Regions from separate parts of the Homo sapiens genome. Here region 2 is linked to region 1. Evidence: promoter capture Hi-C in human tissues and cell types (Jung and others, 2019). All regions are on one chromosome and are shown on one strand. The core of a region is centred on a gene start or on the middle of the fragment in contact, and the rest is flanking DNA. Distances in the headings are between cores, read along the strand shown. Region 1 holds the start of SDR16C5 (short chain dehydrogenase/reductase family 16C member 5). Region 2 overlaps PENK-AS1 (PENK antisense RNA 1).

Region 1 (3,897 bases), core at 1,045-3,544:
GTCTTGTACTGTGTTTTTTAAACTCATATTCTGTGAAGTGTACTTCATACCCTTGAAAAACATGATTTTATAAAGATGGCTGTAGAGTACTCCATCGGCACATACTTCTTAGGAATTAAAGATCAATTTATTTTGATTAATATACTTGTTTCCTAAAAAGGTACTACTTCACATGATTCAGTGGAGTGGAAAGTCTCTTTCCCATCCCTGACTCTCAGTGACCCAGTTTCCCTTCCTGAAAGGCCACAGACAATACCTGGGTATTTGGTAAAGATAAAGGTGGAATTGGGTCAGAGGATATATCCCTTTCTAATTCCTGAAACATATTTGTTTTCCAGAAATGTATAATTTATACCCCCATATGAAGGCATTCTTTTAAAAAAAAAAAAAAACTTTCAATTTGTAAGGTAAGAAATGTTTTCATATGCATCTCTTTGGCCCTAAGATCAAAGAAATTGAGAATAAGATTAAACCACTTTTTCATGTTTATTAGCCCATGACACATGTTCTATCATAAACTGTCCATTCCTAGCCTTTGCCAAAAGAGACCCTTTAGAAATCCTTTCCCAGCTTTCAGGATTATGGTCAGTCCTCTGAGTTTCCCCCACATCAAGTCAAAGCAGGACCCTTTCCAACCAGCAGGGCCTCTGGCTTCTTTCACTGCGTCACCGGTGCATCCCCCACTACTCACTCTCATCTTTTGTACTGATGAGATTTCTAATAATGCTCCAAATTTCTTTCTTGAGGTCCACCCAGGGCTTCTGACCAGAAAGAAGAGTGACAGCCTAGGATTCTGCTCAGAGAAGCCATGAAGATAATAGGAGGCTGGTGTTTCCCAGTGTCCACTCATCTGAACTCTTGCAGGCAGGCTGCACCATCAAGGGCCCATTACCCGACGTCTCTCTGCCTCAGTCCACTCTCACTCCCAGGTGCTGCTCACCTCCACACCTTAGCCCATTCTGGAAGGCCCTTTGAGTCCAACTGCCTCTCCTCCTGCAGGCTGGTTGTGGACTCTGGAAGCACCTGGGGTGCATGTCTATCACCCGCACTGTTTATGAATGTGTCTCCCTTCTCCCTCAGAAGCCCTGCAACTCCCCAGAGCCCCACACAGCAGTGTCGCTGTGTGGTGACGGCTGACTTGAAACCAATGCACGCACATTTACCCACTCACCTTCCCACACGCCTCGCATAGCTTGCCACAGCTCGCTGCTGCTGCCTAAAGCACACAAGTAACCTCTTAAGTACTGAAAAGACAGTCGAGGGTTTCCCCTGCACCTACTTTTCCAAGCTTATACGACCTGCCTGTTTCTTCTGTCACCCAAATAAAGAACAAATGTGCAGTTCCTCTACTCCAGACCTGTCCCAGATATGGGCTGGCTAAGGCTGCTCTTCGACCCCTCACCACTTTTCCTGTCCTACTCAGCCCCGGGATAAATTTCAAACCCAATCTCATCATGACTCCCCTGTTTTTCTTTCAACATCCCATAATTTATTGTCATTTCTGCCCCTCATTGCCCCCAGAAAAGTTCACCCTCTATTATTAGCATCTCAGTGGTGTCTTGTGCTTATATTAACTCTTTTATTGATTTATTAATGAATGTTTTTCCTTTTTTTTTTTCTTGACAGATATATCATCGCTGTTATCTTCTGGATCGCTGTACACCCAGATGCTTAATATATCTTGATTGGGTCAGAGTGCCTGGTGACTCTTACGCTAGCCTCATTTCTCGGCTTCATCTTGTTAGAACAAATTTCCTCGCCCTCTTCTCCTAGGCCGCCTGCCAGCGCCGCACCCACTCCTGCCCCTGCCTGCACCCCACCCACTTCCCGGGGACTTCCGAGCCCACGCCCACATCCTTTACCTCCAAGGGGCAAGGAAGCTGTTGACTTAAGATCCCATGTGGAGCAGTCAGATGCTGCTGGAGAACTCCCCGCACTGCAGGCTCCAGACACACGACCTGGCCCCTCCCCCGTGGACGCCTATACTGCTCTGTTCTCTAATTCCAGGGTTCCCAACCTCGGGGTTGTGCCTTGCAAATACCTGGGAAACTTTTCTAGCTAATGCCTAGGCCCCTACCAACCCAGAAATTCCCATCTAATAATCTAGGGTACAGCCTAGGCATTGAAACGTTAAGCCTAAGAGAAATCCGGCGCACGCATCCAGTTTCCACCACCGAATTTCCAGCTTCTTAAATCTGCAGGTCCAGAAAAAGAAGATGGGAGTGCTGCCCACGTCGCGCACTGGGGCTACGGCCGGCCCCACCCCTGGCGCTGCCGCGGCAGTCCCGCCCTTGGACTTGGGCGGCGCCTGGATAAACACCTGAACCTGACTGAGCTCCGAGCCAGGGACTCGGGTGCCTGGGGCAGACGAGGCCGGCTTCTCCGCGGACAGCTAGGGAGAGTGTCCTGGGTAAGTTGCCGAGGTCGTCGGTCCTGGGTGCTGGCTCCCGGAGGAGGTCGCGCTGGCGGGGGTCGGGCGAGGCCGCCCTTTGGGCTGGTTTCACGCTGGGTCGCTCGCAAGGGGGCGCGGGTCGCCGAGCCGCGGCAGGACCCACCCGCGAGCTGGTGAGAAAGCAGCTGCACCGGGTAGCGCACGGCTGAGCGTCCCAGAAGCCCGGGCTCCCGTGGCTACGGCTAACGCAGACCCCTCGCCCCCGGGGGTGAGCTGCCAGCCTCCCTCCCCACCCGGAGCAGAGGGCAGGATGCCTCCCCGGACCCTCTTCTTCGGTCCGTTCTGCCCAGGTTCCCTGCTCTCTGCTGCTCAGTGCATCCACCTTCCGGGTGGATATCAACCCCCATATCACCCCTTTCAACCCAAGCTGTGATTGTCAGTCTGTCTGCCCTCCCGTTTCGTCCGGGTGCCCTCACCAGAGCCGACTTGCTGCCGCGCACTGGTATGGGAAGCCGAGGGCGCCTGTTTGGATTGGGTAGGCCGCGAGATAGGGACACCTAGAAGACTTCTGCCAGATTAAATTGTATACGCTCCGTAACATTCTAGGAAAGTCTTTGCAGTAAAATGGAACCGTACATTCACTCTTGTTTGTAAGTATACTATAACCATATTTAATTGATATAGCCAGGGATTATTAATTCATATGCTTAACAGGACCAGTGGAAGTTCTAGCCATTAATTATTTTGCTGTCATTCTGTGCCTGGCACTGTTCTAGAAAGGCCTCCATGTTTTATGGCTGTGCCACATTATTATGGGGATTGAGGAGCAGAGGGGGAGACATGTAAGCTGGCAGGTGTTGAAATCCAAACAGCTCCTCTTGCACCCCCTCCCCAACCCCTTGCACCCCGCAGAGGACTTTGTGCAGGGCAATGCCTTTTTTTTTTTTTTTTTCTAATTTGTTCGAAGGTTTCACACAAGCTAGTAGTGACCACATAATGCTCCTTAAAACTTTACCTATATAAACTGGTTTAATTCTCACAGCTCCTCTGTGTGGTAAGTATTCCTATGCACTATTAGAAACTCCCTTTTTAGAGGAGGAAACTGAGGCACAAGAGATTAAATCATTTCTACCAAAGTTGCAGGGAAAATCAGTGATATATCTGGAATTCCAACCCAAACTTTAATCTCTAGACCTCATTGCCTGTGTGGGTACCCAGCAGGCACCCTAAACTTCAACTGGGGAAGGGAGGTAACTCAGGCTGACAAGCTCTTAGAAATCTAGTAAGCATCTGCCAAGACAGGGTTAAAAGATGGACATATTTTAGGTCTTGCATCAAGCCAACATTGAGACAGTGGAACACTGAAATCTAGAATGTCCTGACATTAAGAGCGTTCATGTCACCCAGGTCAATGTTGAGACTTCTGGCCACTGCTGAGGTGCTGGAGCCCTGTGATGGGAGAAGTAGACCTCTGTCCCTCTATGTGAATTCACATAGTGATATAA
Region 2 (4,069 bases), core at 1,350-3,849, 140 kb before region 1:
AATTGACTTTAAGTCAAAAATTGTCACTAGCGAAAAAGAAGGACATTATATAATGATAAAAGAATCAATTCACCAGGAAGACATAATAATTATACATATATATGTGTATATACACATGTGGATATATACACATACATATATGCAAATATTAGAGCATCTAAAGATACAAGAGAAACATTCATCAAACTCAAGAAAGAAATAGAAAGAAGAAATATAAGTAGATAGCAACACAATAATAGTAGGAAATTTCAATAGCTCACTTTCAATAATGGATAGAACATCTAAAAAGAAAATTGATAAGAAAACAGAATGTGAACAACACTATACACCAAATGGACCTAACAGGCATATAGAGAACATTCCACGCAACAGCAGCAGAATACACATTCCTCTCAAGAATGTACTGAATATTATCCACAATAGATCACATTTTAGATCACAAAACATGTCTGAATGAATTTAAGAAAATTGAAAATTATAACAAATATCTTTCCTGATCACAATGGAATAAAAATAGAAATCAACAGCAGAAGGAAAACTTGAAAATTCAAAAATGTAGAAATGAAACAACACACTTTTGAATAACCAATAGGACAAAGAAAAAAATTAAAAAGAAAATTAAAAAATATCTTGAGACAAACAAAAACAAAATATGGTATATCATACCAAATCTTATGGGATGTAGCAAAGGCAGTACTAAGAGGAAAGTTTATAGTGTTAAACTCCTACACTTAAAAAGAAAAAATATCTTAAATAGAAGACCTAACTCTACACCTAAAGAAATTAGAAAAAAAGCAACCATGTGCAAATTTAGCAGAAGGAAGGAAATAATGTAGATTACAGCAGAAATAAATTAAATAGAGAATAGAAAAAAATCATTAAAACTAAGGATTTGTTTTTTGAGAATATCAACAAAATTGACAAACATTTGGCTAGACTAAGAAAAAAAGAGAAAAGATTCAAAGAAAACCGGAAAAAAAAGAGAAGCCATTACAACTGACGAATACAAAGGATCATAAGAGACTACTATCAACAATGATGCACCAACAAATTGGATAACCTAGAAGAAATTCCTAGAAACATTCAACCTACCAAGACTGAATCATGAAAAAATAGAAAATCTAAACAGACATAATTAACAAAGACATTGAATCAGTAGTCAAAAGTCCCCCAAAAAAGAAAAGCCCAAGACCACATAATTTCACTGGTGAATTCTACCAAACCTTTAAAGAAGAATTAATGCGAATCTTTCTCAAACACTCATAAAACATGTTTAAAGTGAGGAACACTTCCAAACTCATTATATGAGGCCAGCATTACCCTGATACAAAGGCCAGAGAAAGACACTATGAGAAAAGAAAGCTACAGGTCAATATCCCTAATAAATACACATGTAAATATTCTTAACAATATATGAGCAAACAGACCATTAAAAGGATCTTAACCATGACTCAAGTGGGAGTTACCCCTGGGATATAAAGATGGTTTATCATATGAAAATCAATCAATGTGATACACCACATTAACAGAACAAAGAATAAAAATCACAAATAATGATCTCAATAGATGCAGAACAAGCATTTGACAAAATTCAACACACTTTCATTAAAAAAATCAATACACAACGAAGAGAAGGAAATTATATCAACATAATAAAGGCTATATATGAAAAGTCCACAGCTAACATTATACTCGATGGTGAAAAACTAAAACTTTTCCTGTGACATCAAGAAGAAGAAAAGGATGCCTGCTCTTGCCACTCCATTTACCATAGTAATGGAAGTCCTAGCCAGAACAATTTGGTAAGAAAAAGAAATAAATGGCATTCAAATCTCAAAGAAAGAAGTAAAATTATTGCAGTTTGTGGATCACATGATCTTATATAGAGGAAACTGTAAAAGCTCCACCAATAAACTATTAGAACTAATAAATAAATTTAGTGACACTGAAGGATAAGAAGTAACATACAAACATCAGGTGTGTTTTTATACACTAATAAATCATCTGAAAAGGAAATTAATAAAATAATCCAATTTACAATGGCATCATTAAAGAATAAGCTTAAGCATAAGCTTAACCAAGGAAATAAAAAACTTACACACTGAAAACTACAAAACATTGCTGAAAGGAATTAAAGAAGAAAGAAAGAAATAGAAAGACATTCTATGTTAATGGATTGGAAGATTTAATATTGTTACAATGTCTGTACTACTCAAAGTGATCTACAGACCTGATGCAATCTCTATCAAAATCACAATGGCACTTTTTACAAAAATTAGAAAAAAATGATTCTAAAATTCAGATGGAACCACAAAGGACCCTGAACAGCCAAAACTATCTTAAGAAAAAAAGAACAAAGCTTGAGGTCCCACATTTCCTGATTTCAAAATATATTACAAAGCTACAATGGCAAAAAAAGAACACAGTATAATACTGACATAAATACAGATACATTAGTCAATGGAATAGAATAGACAGCAAAGAAATCCATGCATTTATGGTGAGTTGATTTTTAACAAAGGTGCAGAGAAAACACAATGGGGAACAAATAGTCTCTCCAACAGATGGTGTTGGGAAAACTGGATATACACATTAAAAAGAAGAAAATTGGATCATTATCTTACACAAAAATCAACTCAAAATGGGGTAAAGATTTATACATAAGATCCGAAACCACAAAACTACTAGAAGGAAAGCATTGTGGAAATGCTTCATTACTCTGGTGACAATTTCTTGGATAAGACACCAAAAAATAGGCAAGAAATGCAAAAATAAACAAGTGGAACCACATCAATCTAAAAAGCTTCTGCATAGCCAAGGAAACAGTCAACAGAGTGACAAGGTAACCTATGAAATGGGAGAAAATATTTGTAAGTCATATATTTCATAATAGGTTAATATCCAAAATATATCCAAACAATAGATTAAAACAACTTATTTTAAAATGGTCAAAAGTTTAGAATAGACATTTCTCCAGAGAATATATATAAATGGTCAACAAGTATATGAAAAGATTCTCATATCTTTTCATGATCATTAATCATCAGAGAAATGCCAATCAAAACGACAATGAAATATTATCTCACATCTGCTAAAATAGCCATTATGTTAAAAAAAAAAACAGAAATTAAGAAGTTTTAGCAAGGACATGGAAAAATTAGAACGCTTGTGACTGCTGGTGGAAAGGTAAAATGGTGCAGCCACTATGAAGATGGGTATGAAGGTTACTCAAGAAATTAAAAATAGAACTGCCATATGATCCAGCAATCCTACATCTGTGTATTTATCCAAATAATTGAAATCAGGATCTCAAAGAGATATTAGCACTCCCATGATCATTGAAGCATTCTACACAGTGTGAGATGGGGTCCAATTTCATCCATTTGCTTGTGGATATCCAGTTTTCCCAACACCATTGATTAAAGACAGCATCTTCCCCATTGTGTGTTTTTAGCATTTTTGTCAGAGATCAATTGATCATAAATCCATGGATTTATTTCTGGGTTCTCTATACTCTTCTGCTTTACCATTGGCCTATATGTTTATTTGTACGCTGATCTCATTCTGTTTTGATTACGATAGGTTTGCAGTATATTTGTTATCAGGTAATCTCTTCAGCTTTCTTCTTTTTCCTCAAGATTACTTTAGCTGTTTGGATGTTTTGTGGTTCCATACAGATTTTAGGATTATTTCTTCTATTTCTGTGGAAACAGATGCCATTGAAATTTTTATAGGGATTGCACTGAATCTTTAGATCCCTTTGGTAGTAGGAATATGTTAACAATATTAATTATTCCAATTCATAAACATGAGATATCTTTCTTTATGTCTTCCTTAATTTATTTCATCAATGATTCATAGTTTTCAATGTACAGATCTCTTACCCCCTTGGTTAAATTTATTCCTAAGTAATTTTTAACTCTATTGTTTGCTTGATTTCTTTTTCAGATAGCCATCATTAGTTTACAGAAACACAGCTGATTTTACTTGTTGATTTTGTATCTTGTAATTTCACTGAATTTGTTCATTAGTTCTAACAGGGTTTTTGGTGTGTCCTAGTTGTACATTT

The links. The method cuts DNA at HindIII sites, captures the fragments that hold promoters and counts their contacts. A contact is called where the count stands out against the background at its distance.
Region 2: a fragment that was not itself captured here is called in contact with the fragment with the promoter of SDR16C5 in region 1 in 1 of the 25 tissues and cell types used here (small bowel).

The regions. Positions count from the first base shown.
Region 1 is chr8:56,318,572-56,322,468 of GRCh38, reverse strand. SDR16C5 (short chain dehydrogenase/reductase family 16C member 5) reads left to right here and starts at 2,294. Exons shown (of 7, transcript NM_138969.4): 1 at 2,294-2,410. The HindIII fragment of the contact is 11,880 bases long and covers 1-3,897 here.
Region 2 is chr8:56,456,691-56,460,759 of GRCh38, reverse strand. All of the region lies in intron 1 of PENK-AS1 (PENK antisense RNA 1), which reads right to left. Among named protein-coding and RNA genes, the nearest start is that of PENK, 12 kb to the right of the region's middle. The HindIII fragment of the contact is 3,745 bases long and covers 727-4,069 here.